Regions from separate parts of the Homo sapiens genome. Here region 2 is linked to region 1. Evidence: promoter capture Hi-C in 16 types of primary human blood cells and fetal thymus (Javierre and others, 2016). All regions are on one chromosome and are shown on one strand. Each heading gives the region's core, a stretch centred on a gene start or on the middle of the fragment in contact. The rest is flanking DNA. Distances are from core to core; before and after follow the strand shown. Region 1 holds the start of DHRS7B (dehydrogenase/reductase 7B). Region 2 has its middle 20 kb from the start of KCNJ12.

Region 1 (4,028 bases), core at 1,291-3,790:
CAACACCCACCATGTTGTTCCTTGCGTCCCAGGGTGGCTAGCTGGTTTGCCTTCTCTCCAACTTTTGGAGTCTTAGATTGTTTTATATATAATGCCCACAATTTTTAGTTGTACTTAGTAAAAGGAATAGGGAAAATTGTGTCTAGTTCATCTTCCTGGAAACAAAAATCTTCCATCTTGTTTTCATAGAAGGCCATGGAACTGTGCTAACCACTGGAATCTATTTGTTTTGTTTGTTTGTTTGAGATGGAGTCTCGCTGTGTTGCCCAGGCTGGAGTGCAGTGGCATGATCTCTGCTCACTGCAACCTCCACCTCCTGGTTTCAAGTGATTCTCCTTCCTCAGCCTCCTGAGTAGCTGGGACTACAGGTAAACGACACCATGCCTGGCTGATTTTTTTGTATTTTTAGTAGATGGGGTTTCCCCATGTTGGCCAGGCTGATCTCAAACTCCCGACCTCAGGTGATCCGCCTGCCTCAGCCTTCCAAAATGCTGGATTACAGGTGTGAGCCACTGCACCCGGCCCACTGGAATCCTTTTTGTATAATATCCTGGCTGCGAAGTTAGAGTTTTTACACTTGCATTTGGCAGATGCAATTCAAATTGGTTACCAAAACTTTGAAATATATTGAGTTGCTTCTAAAACAAATTCCATGCAGGATTGAAGAGTGGGTAGGCTAAGAGGGTAGCAGGCCTGGGAAATGAACCCCAGGAAACTGACTTAGTCATGCAATAAAGACTCAGGTGTTACCAGTGGAGAGTGTCCAGGTTCTTGGCGTTTTGAACAAACAATTGGACAAAACGCACAAACAAAGCAAGGAAAGAATGATGCAACAAAAGCAGAGATTTATTGAAAACAAAAGCACACTCCACAGGTTGGGAGCCTGCCTAGCAGGTGGCTCAAGAGCCCGGTTACAGAATTTTCTGGAGTTTAAATACCCTCTAGAGGGTTCCCGTTGGTTACTTGGTGTACACTCTATGTAAAAGAAGTAGTGGCCTGTGATCAGCCTGATTGGTTGCAAGAGGGGACCAATCAGAGGTACCTTCAATTTTTCATCTGCCAGGCAGAAAAGCGGGGCAGGTTGCAAAGGGACTAGCTTCTGTTCCTTTTGTTACCTGGGCATGGAAAGTTCGGGTTTTCCTTTTGATTTAGTTCTAGGAAGTCAGCGTGAATTGGCCTTAGGTTCCCTGTCTCCAGACCCTATTTTTCTGCCTTACGGTTCATATTGGGTTTGCTACAAGGATATTCAAACTTTGTGAATTGGCAAGCAGGAATCTAGAGTTTCCAGAACAATGGAGAGGGGCCAGAAAGGTATAAAAACTTTTGTGAAAACGTCAAAAATAAATATTTAGTTAAAAATAAAATTTCCCATTTTCAGATTTTGTGAATATCTGTAAGAATTTCCAGGATATATTAATTCGCTAAAGTTAATAAAAGCAAGAAACAGAAGGACGTTTCAGAATGCTATTGTTTGTGTAACAAGGGGGTGCTGAATACATACATAATTGCTTGGTTATGAATAAACTGGCTCTGGAAGGACACACATAGCTAATAGCATCGTTACCTAGGGGGAGGTGAAGTGGGTCCTGGAGAACAGAAAGGGAGATTTTCCACCTTACACACATTTGCCATCTTATGATTTTGAACGATAAGAGTCCCCCCGCCCCTTCCTTCCTCTGCCCTGCCCCTTCCTTCCTCTGCCCTTTACTCTCTCAATATCCTCTTTTCATGCTTTTTTTTTTTTTTTAAATCACTTCGGGTCCTTTAAAAAATTTACTTGCAAGAAGTACGTACATATTCTGAATAAAATTCATTTTCAGATATATGTATTACAAATATCTTGTCTGTTCTATTGTCTTTCCCTTTTCTCAATGGGGTCTTTTCGGTGTCTTATAGTTACAGACACCCAATTTATCAGCTTTTTCCTTTAGGACTGGCACTTTTTGTGTTCTGCTAACACGTTATTTTCCTCTCTTATGGTCATAATATTCTGCGATTTTATTGTCTAGAGTTGTATTGTTCACATTCAGGTCTACCATCCGTCTAGAATTATTTTACTTGAGATAGGAGTCAAGGTTCATTTCCCCCCAATCGACCTTCAATTGACCTAGCACTATATATTGAAAAAACTCTTCTTATTGCATTACAGTGGCTACTTGTAGGAGGAAAAAGTGACTACATAGCTGCAGGTCTGTTTCTGGTCTCTCTCTTTTTCATTCATTGTTTTTACCTTTGTGCCAGTTATCACACTGTTCTGATTACTGTGGCATTATAATCATCTTGATAACTGTATCGTGAATTCTCCAACTGTGTTCTTCGCCGGAAGTCCACGGAACACCAACCACGACCTTCGGAATTTCCCTCCGGAAGATGAAGGCACTGTAGTTATGCGGGTGGACCCTATCAGATCTCGGGTCCATCGGGTCCTGTGTACACCTTGAGGGACGCCCACCCAACGCGCATGCGCAGCCTCAATGCTGGGATTGGACGGAGCCTCGCCGGCTGCGTACACGTCACTTCCGAGGCGGGAGGATGAAGTTGATTGACTATGGTCTCTCCGGCTACCAGGTAGGGGCTGGGGAAGAAGGAACCTCCGAGATGAGGCGATAGGGTCTGGCCTTGAGCTGAGGCGACGCCCCGGCTTGGGTGAGGGGAAGCGGTGTAGTGGTCGAGCTAAGGCCGCGGGCCCTGGGCGGCTTCCGGATCCCCGCGACGCCGAACTCTGAAGGAAGACTCAGCCCAGGCGCTGGGACCAGAGCCCTGGCTCCGGCGAGTGCGTGGCGGGGAAACCCGCCTGTCGCCGAGGTGTCTTGAGTCCAGTTTCCGCTGCTGGGAATGGGTGTCGCGCCGGGCGCTGTGTGTGAAAGGCCTCGCGCCCACAGGGCTCCTGGCTTCAACCTGTTTATTCCCACATTTCTGCGCGACGTAGGGGAGGCTCCGCAGCGTCTGCGAGTGGCAGGACCGAGGGTTGAGCGCTGGGGGCCAGTGGCACCTTAGCCAGTGACGGCGAGTTAGGACTAGCAAAGGAAGTCCGGTTTTTCAGAAGGCAGGAGGAGGGTGCTGACTCGAGCGTCCACGGGAATGGCTGGTTGAGATATCTTGCTCTTCCAATACTTACTCTGCGGCTTCCTGGCTGTGCGGCTTTGGGCAAATGTTTTAAACTCTGAGTGTTTCTTCAGCTGTAACTTTGGGAGTAACAAGCCCACTCATAAGGTTGTTGTGAAGCGTAAATGAGACTGCGCGTGCAAGGTGCTCAGCTGGTGTCTGGCACATAGTAGGTATTCAACAAATGGTAGCCACATAATGCTCTTTTTTTCAGTTTCCAAACCTTCCATGTAGTGATTGGAGAATCGTGAAGTTACTTTTGAAGTAACGTTTGGGTTTCACACACTCATACATTTAGTAAGCAGAATTCTTGCTTACACTGTTGCCGATTGCAACGGTGTGTTTGCATAATGGAAGCTATGTTTGTGCCTTTGCCAAGGGTGTGGAATATGCCTTCCCTACCATGTACATGTCCCCTTTTCTCCATTCCTTAATAATAGTTGATATTTTTTGAGTGTTTGCTATGTTACAGGCACTGTACTAATCCCTTTACTGAATTATTCAATCCTGTAATAACCCTAATCATAGGAACTATAATTTTTATTTATGGAGGGAGAAATGGGCTTAGAGATGTTAAGAAGTTTATCCAAAGGCATAGAGCTATTAGCCAGGCAAGGTAGCACACGCCTGTAGTCCCAGCTATTTGTTGGGGCTGAGGCAAGTGGATTGCTTGAACCTGGGAGACAGGCTGCAGTGAGCCGAGATCACGCCATTGCATTCAAGTCTGGGTGACAAAGTGAGACCCTGTCTTGGCTGGGCGCAGTGGCTCACACATGTAATCCCAGCACTTTAGGAGGCTGAGGCGGGCGGATCACCTGAGGTCAGGAGTTCGAGACCAGCCTGGCCAACGTGGTGAAACCCCGTCTCTACTAAAAAATACAAAAATTGGCTGGGCGCGGTGGCTCACGCCTGTATTTCCAGCA
Region 2 (4,193 bases), core at 545-3,044, 230 kb after region 1:
AGTACCTTAATTAAAAAAAATAAACCTGCCCGGCACGGTGGCTCACGCCTGTAATCCCAGCACTTTGGGAGGCTGAGGTGGGCAGATCACAAGGTCTGGAGTTCGAGATCAGCCTAGCCAATATGGTGAAACCCTGTCTCTACTGAAAATACAAAAATTAGCTGGTTGTGGTGGCACACGCCTGTAGTCCCAGCTACTTGGGAGGCTGAGGCAGAAGAATCGCTTGAACTCGGTAGGCAGAGGCTGCAGTGAGCCAAGATTGCACCACTGCACTCCAGCCTGGCGACAGAGCGAGACTCCATCTCAAAAACAAACAAACAAACAAAACAACAACAAAAATAAACCCATCAGAGAGACCATCTTGCCCCTGCTTAAAACCTTCCAGCTGTTCCCCATAGAACAAAAATATAAAGTTCAAGTCTTGTGCTGTGGCTCTCAGGGTCCCGTGATCTGGCTTAGCCTCTCCCTGACTCGGGGCCAGCGCTCTGTTTCTCTGGGCTCTCTGTGTGAGTGGCCATGCTCTGTCCTGCCTCCAAGCCTTGTGCCTGCTGACCACCCCCACTCAGAATGGAACACTCTTTTTCCATCTCTGCACCAGTTTTCACGTCTCCTGTCAAACATCCCTCTTTGGAGAGGCCCTCACTGACCTCCCTGGCTAAGTAGCCGCTCACGCCTCATTCGCCACCCTGCTACCCTGACCTTCATACCTTGACCTCTGCCTGAAACTGCCTCCTCTGAAGTTTACGCATCTCCATTTTTGTTGTCTGTCTCCTGCACAAGAAGATCAGCTGCACAAGAACAGGGGCTTTTGTCTCTTTTGTGCCCTGTTATGTCTCCAATGCCCAGATCGGGGACTGGCCCAGAGCAGGTGTTCAGCAAAGGAATGAATGAATGAATGAATGAATGAATGGAAGTTGGCTCCCATCTTTCCAGCCCTGCCTCCAACACCTCCAGCGAGACTGTGGTTCCTCTTCTCACAGTGGATTCCCACCCCCAAGCCGAGCCCAGGGCCCCTCGCGGGCATTTGGTGAAGTTATGGCCGTGTCCTGTTGCCCTTGCGTTAATGCTGCAGTGTCTGGCCTGGTTTCCCAGTTCTTTCCCTTCCCCAGCCGGCCCAGCTGTCAATTCCCACCACCCTCAACCCCCATCACCAATGCCGGTGCTTGCGCCCACCACAGACAGGTCCCACTTCCAGGCCCTGTGCCTACCTGAGGCCACTGTGAGGCATGTGGTGAGACTGACCTTGCCGGCAGGATTTGAGGGGAGCCAAGAAGCCAGCTTGGGAGGCATGACAACCGCAGTCATGGATGTTGCCACGAGGACCTGCATGTCCTTCACTATTATCCCTCTTGACCCCTGGTTGGGTGATAACTGACCTTATTTTTCAGATGACAAAATTGAGGCTCAGGAAAGTTAAGATTGTGCTCCAAGGTCACAGAGCAGGGAAGGGACGAGCTGCAATGGCTGCTGCACTTCCCTTATGGTAATAGCCTTATTATTCCTGTTGCTGCTGCTGGGTCCTGGGCTCCATCTCCAGGAGCCTTTCCCCTCGGCCCCTCCCACCCCTCCAGAGCCTCAGGCCACTCTTGCTGAATAAGGGTCTAGCCATTTACTGACCTGGGGCTGGTCCTCATCTGGAAAGCGGGATGGTGAGAGGCGGTAATGAGGGACCTGACACGTGGACGGGATCTGGGAAACGGCCGTAACAGGCCGTCCTTTCCTTTTCTCAGGGCTCCTGCCTGTGTGGAGAGATGATGGCTCCCCACCACTGCCACCTCCCCCACACCCCTGCCCACCCACGTCTCCCGCTCCCCGGGCTCACAGTCTGGGTAGAGGCTGTTTCAAACAGAAGACCAAGCATCTGCGGGAATCCAGACCAGACCCTAAGCCAGCTCCAGAGGGCTTCCTGGGGGAGAAGAGTTTTGACAAGAGTATCCAAGGCAGAAGAAACAGCCTGGGCAAAAGCCTGGAGGTGGGGAAATTGAGACCTCCTGGAGGCTGAGGAAGGCTGGAGGGAGGGAGGAGAACAAAGGGCCTTAACCAGCCATCAGGTGAGGGCAGCTAGGCCTTCCCCAGGGCCACATTATGACTTTCAAGCACCCAGGGCACTTTGGCCTAAATGAGTCCATTTATCCATAAAAAATAAAAACACTAAATACAAAAAATTAGCCGGGCGTGGTGGCGGGCACCTGTAGTCCCAGCTACTCGGGAGGCTGAGGCAGGAGAATGGTGTGAACCCAGGGGGCGGAGCTTGCAGTGAGCTGAGATTGCGCCACTGCACTCCAGCCTGGGCGGCAGAGTGAGACTCCATCTCAAACAAAACACAACAAAACAAAACAAAACAAAAACACTAAAAATATATTCTACGTCTTCACTGGAATAGAGAGAAATATAATTCGTTAGTCATCCACTCACCCATTCATCCCCTGTCCATCTTTCCGTTAGTCATCCACTCACCCATTCATGCCCTGCCCATCTATCTATCCCTTTGACTCCATTCACTCACCTCGCCAACCACCCACCCATCCATCCATCCATCCATCTATTCAGCTACGTTCCATTTATTCATTTACCCACTCACCCACTTATCCATCCATCCATCCCTCCATTCATCCATCCATCCATCCATTCATCCATTCATCCATCCATCCATTCATCCATCCATTCATCCATTCATCCAGCCACTTACCCACCCATGCATCCACCCATTCATTCATCCACCCACCCTTTCACCAATTCACCAATCCATCCATTCACCCACTCATTTATTCATCCATCAATTTATCCATCTACCCACCCACCCATCCATTCACCCATTCATCTATCTGTCCACTCACTCACACATCCATCCATCTTACCCACCCACCCATCCACTTATCCATTCATCTATCTATCCATTCATTCATCCACCCACCATTCATCTACCCATCCACTCAACCATGCACCTTCTCACCAATCCCCCACCCATCCATTCATCCATCAATTCATCCATCTATCTATACACCCACCCATCCACTCATCCATCCATCCATCTTTACATCCCTCTTAGCACTCCTGCTCACCCCATTCAATTGTCTGTTTCCCTGTAAATATACTCACCCGTCTGCCCACTCATCCATCTACTCATATTCCCTCTGTTTCCATTCTCCATTATTTACTATATCAGCCTCTGCAGTCATCTCTTTTCTCTGGAGATTTCTCTAGCATCTGATCCCGACCTTCCCATCATAAGCCCTCTCTTCACTTCCCATTGCTCACAGATACAAATCCAAACTTCAGACTTAGCTGGCTTTCAAGGCCCTGAAACTATTTTGTCTCTCCTCTCACTGCTCCCACCACGGATCCTGGAAGTTGTGTGGGCCCTGGGCACTGTGCCTACTGTGCCCTCCCTGGCTTTCCCTGCCAGCTGCGGCCTGTGCCTATGGGCTTGAGTCCAGAGAGGAGAAGTGAACCATGAACTTGGGAACAAGAGGGGAAAAGGTGAACAGGACCAGATTAATGCACCAGCCTCAGCTCCCCGCCTGTAATGAGGGGATGGAGTGCCGATGTCCTCCCCCACATTCTAGGCTGGTTTCTGGGCTCACTGAGCTGCCTTGAGGGCCAAGGTGGTGGGGATAATGGAGGGGGCTGATCACTCTTCCCTCTCTCCTGCCACTTACCCCTTAACAGCCTAGCCGATCTGGAACAGAAGGGAAGGGCCTGCTGTGGGAGGGGCAGCCCCATTAGCACTGTTTCTGGCCCCTAGGGAGCCAGGGGTCACCAGAGCCCAGCTGCAGGGCCATTAGCAGCCCATTAGCCCTGCCCCTCCTTCCCAGTCCCCACTCTGGCTCCATTCAGGACCTGCCCTTCACGGCAGAGCTTCTGCCCCTTCACCAACCCCTGCAGGCCTCAGAGGCCCCCTCCGAGGTCAACGTGTCAAGTTCCGGTCAGCCTGGGCAGGGCTGCAGCTGACCCTTGCAGAGCTGGGGAGGACAAAGGAAAGGGAACCCCTGCAGGTGTAAGTGGCTGGACCCTCTGAAAGGGCTTCATCCATCTCTGAGGCAGGTGGTAATGGCTAGTGGAGAGGTGTGTAAGCCATGGGGCCAGCGAGTCAGGTGCCTCTGTCGTCTTTGCCAAGAAGGGGTTGCATTGCTGATTTCTGACTCCCCTAGTGTATGTGAGTTGCTTTTTACGGAGGAGCTGTGCCCCCTCAG

The links. The method cuts DNA at HindIII sites, captures the fragments that hold promoters and counts their contacts. A CHiCAGO score of 5 or more calls a contact.
Region 2: a fragment that was not itself captured here is called in contact with the fragment with the promoter of DHRS7B in region 1 in 1 of 17 cell types (neutrophils); the score reaches 7.4 in neutrophils.

The regions. Positions count from the first base shown.
Region 1 is chr17:21,124,424-21,128,451 of GRCh38, forward strand. It overlaps DHRS7B (dehydrogenase/reductase 7B), which reads left to right and starts at 2,541. Exons shown (of 7, transcript NM_015510.5): 1 at 2,541-2,568. The coding sequence starts at 2,549. RefSeq lists an enhancer at 2,203-2,862. The HindIII fragment of the contact is 14,531 bases long and covers 1-4,028 here.
Region 2 is chr17:21,354,077-21,358,269 of GRCh38, forward strand. No RefSeq gene overlaps it. Among named protein-coding and RNA genes, the nearest start is that of KCNJ12, 20 kb to the right of the region's middle. RefSeq lists enhancers at 3,184-3,754, 3,755-4,193. The HindIII fragment of the contact is 8,001 bases long and covers 1-4,193 here.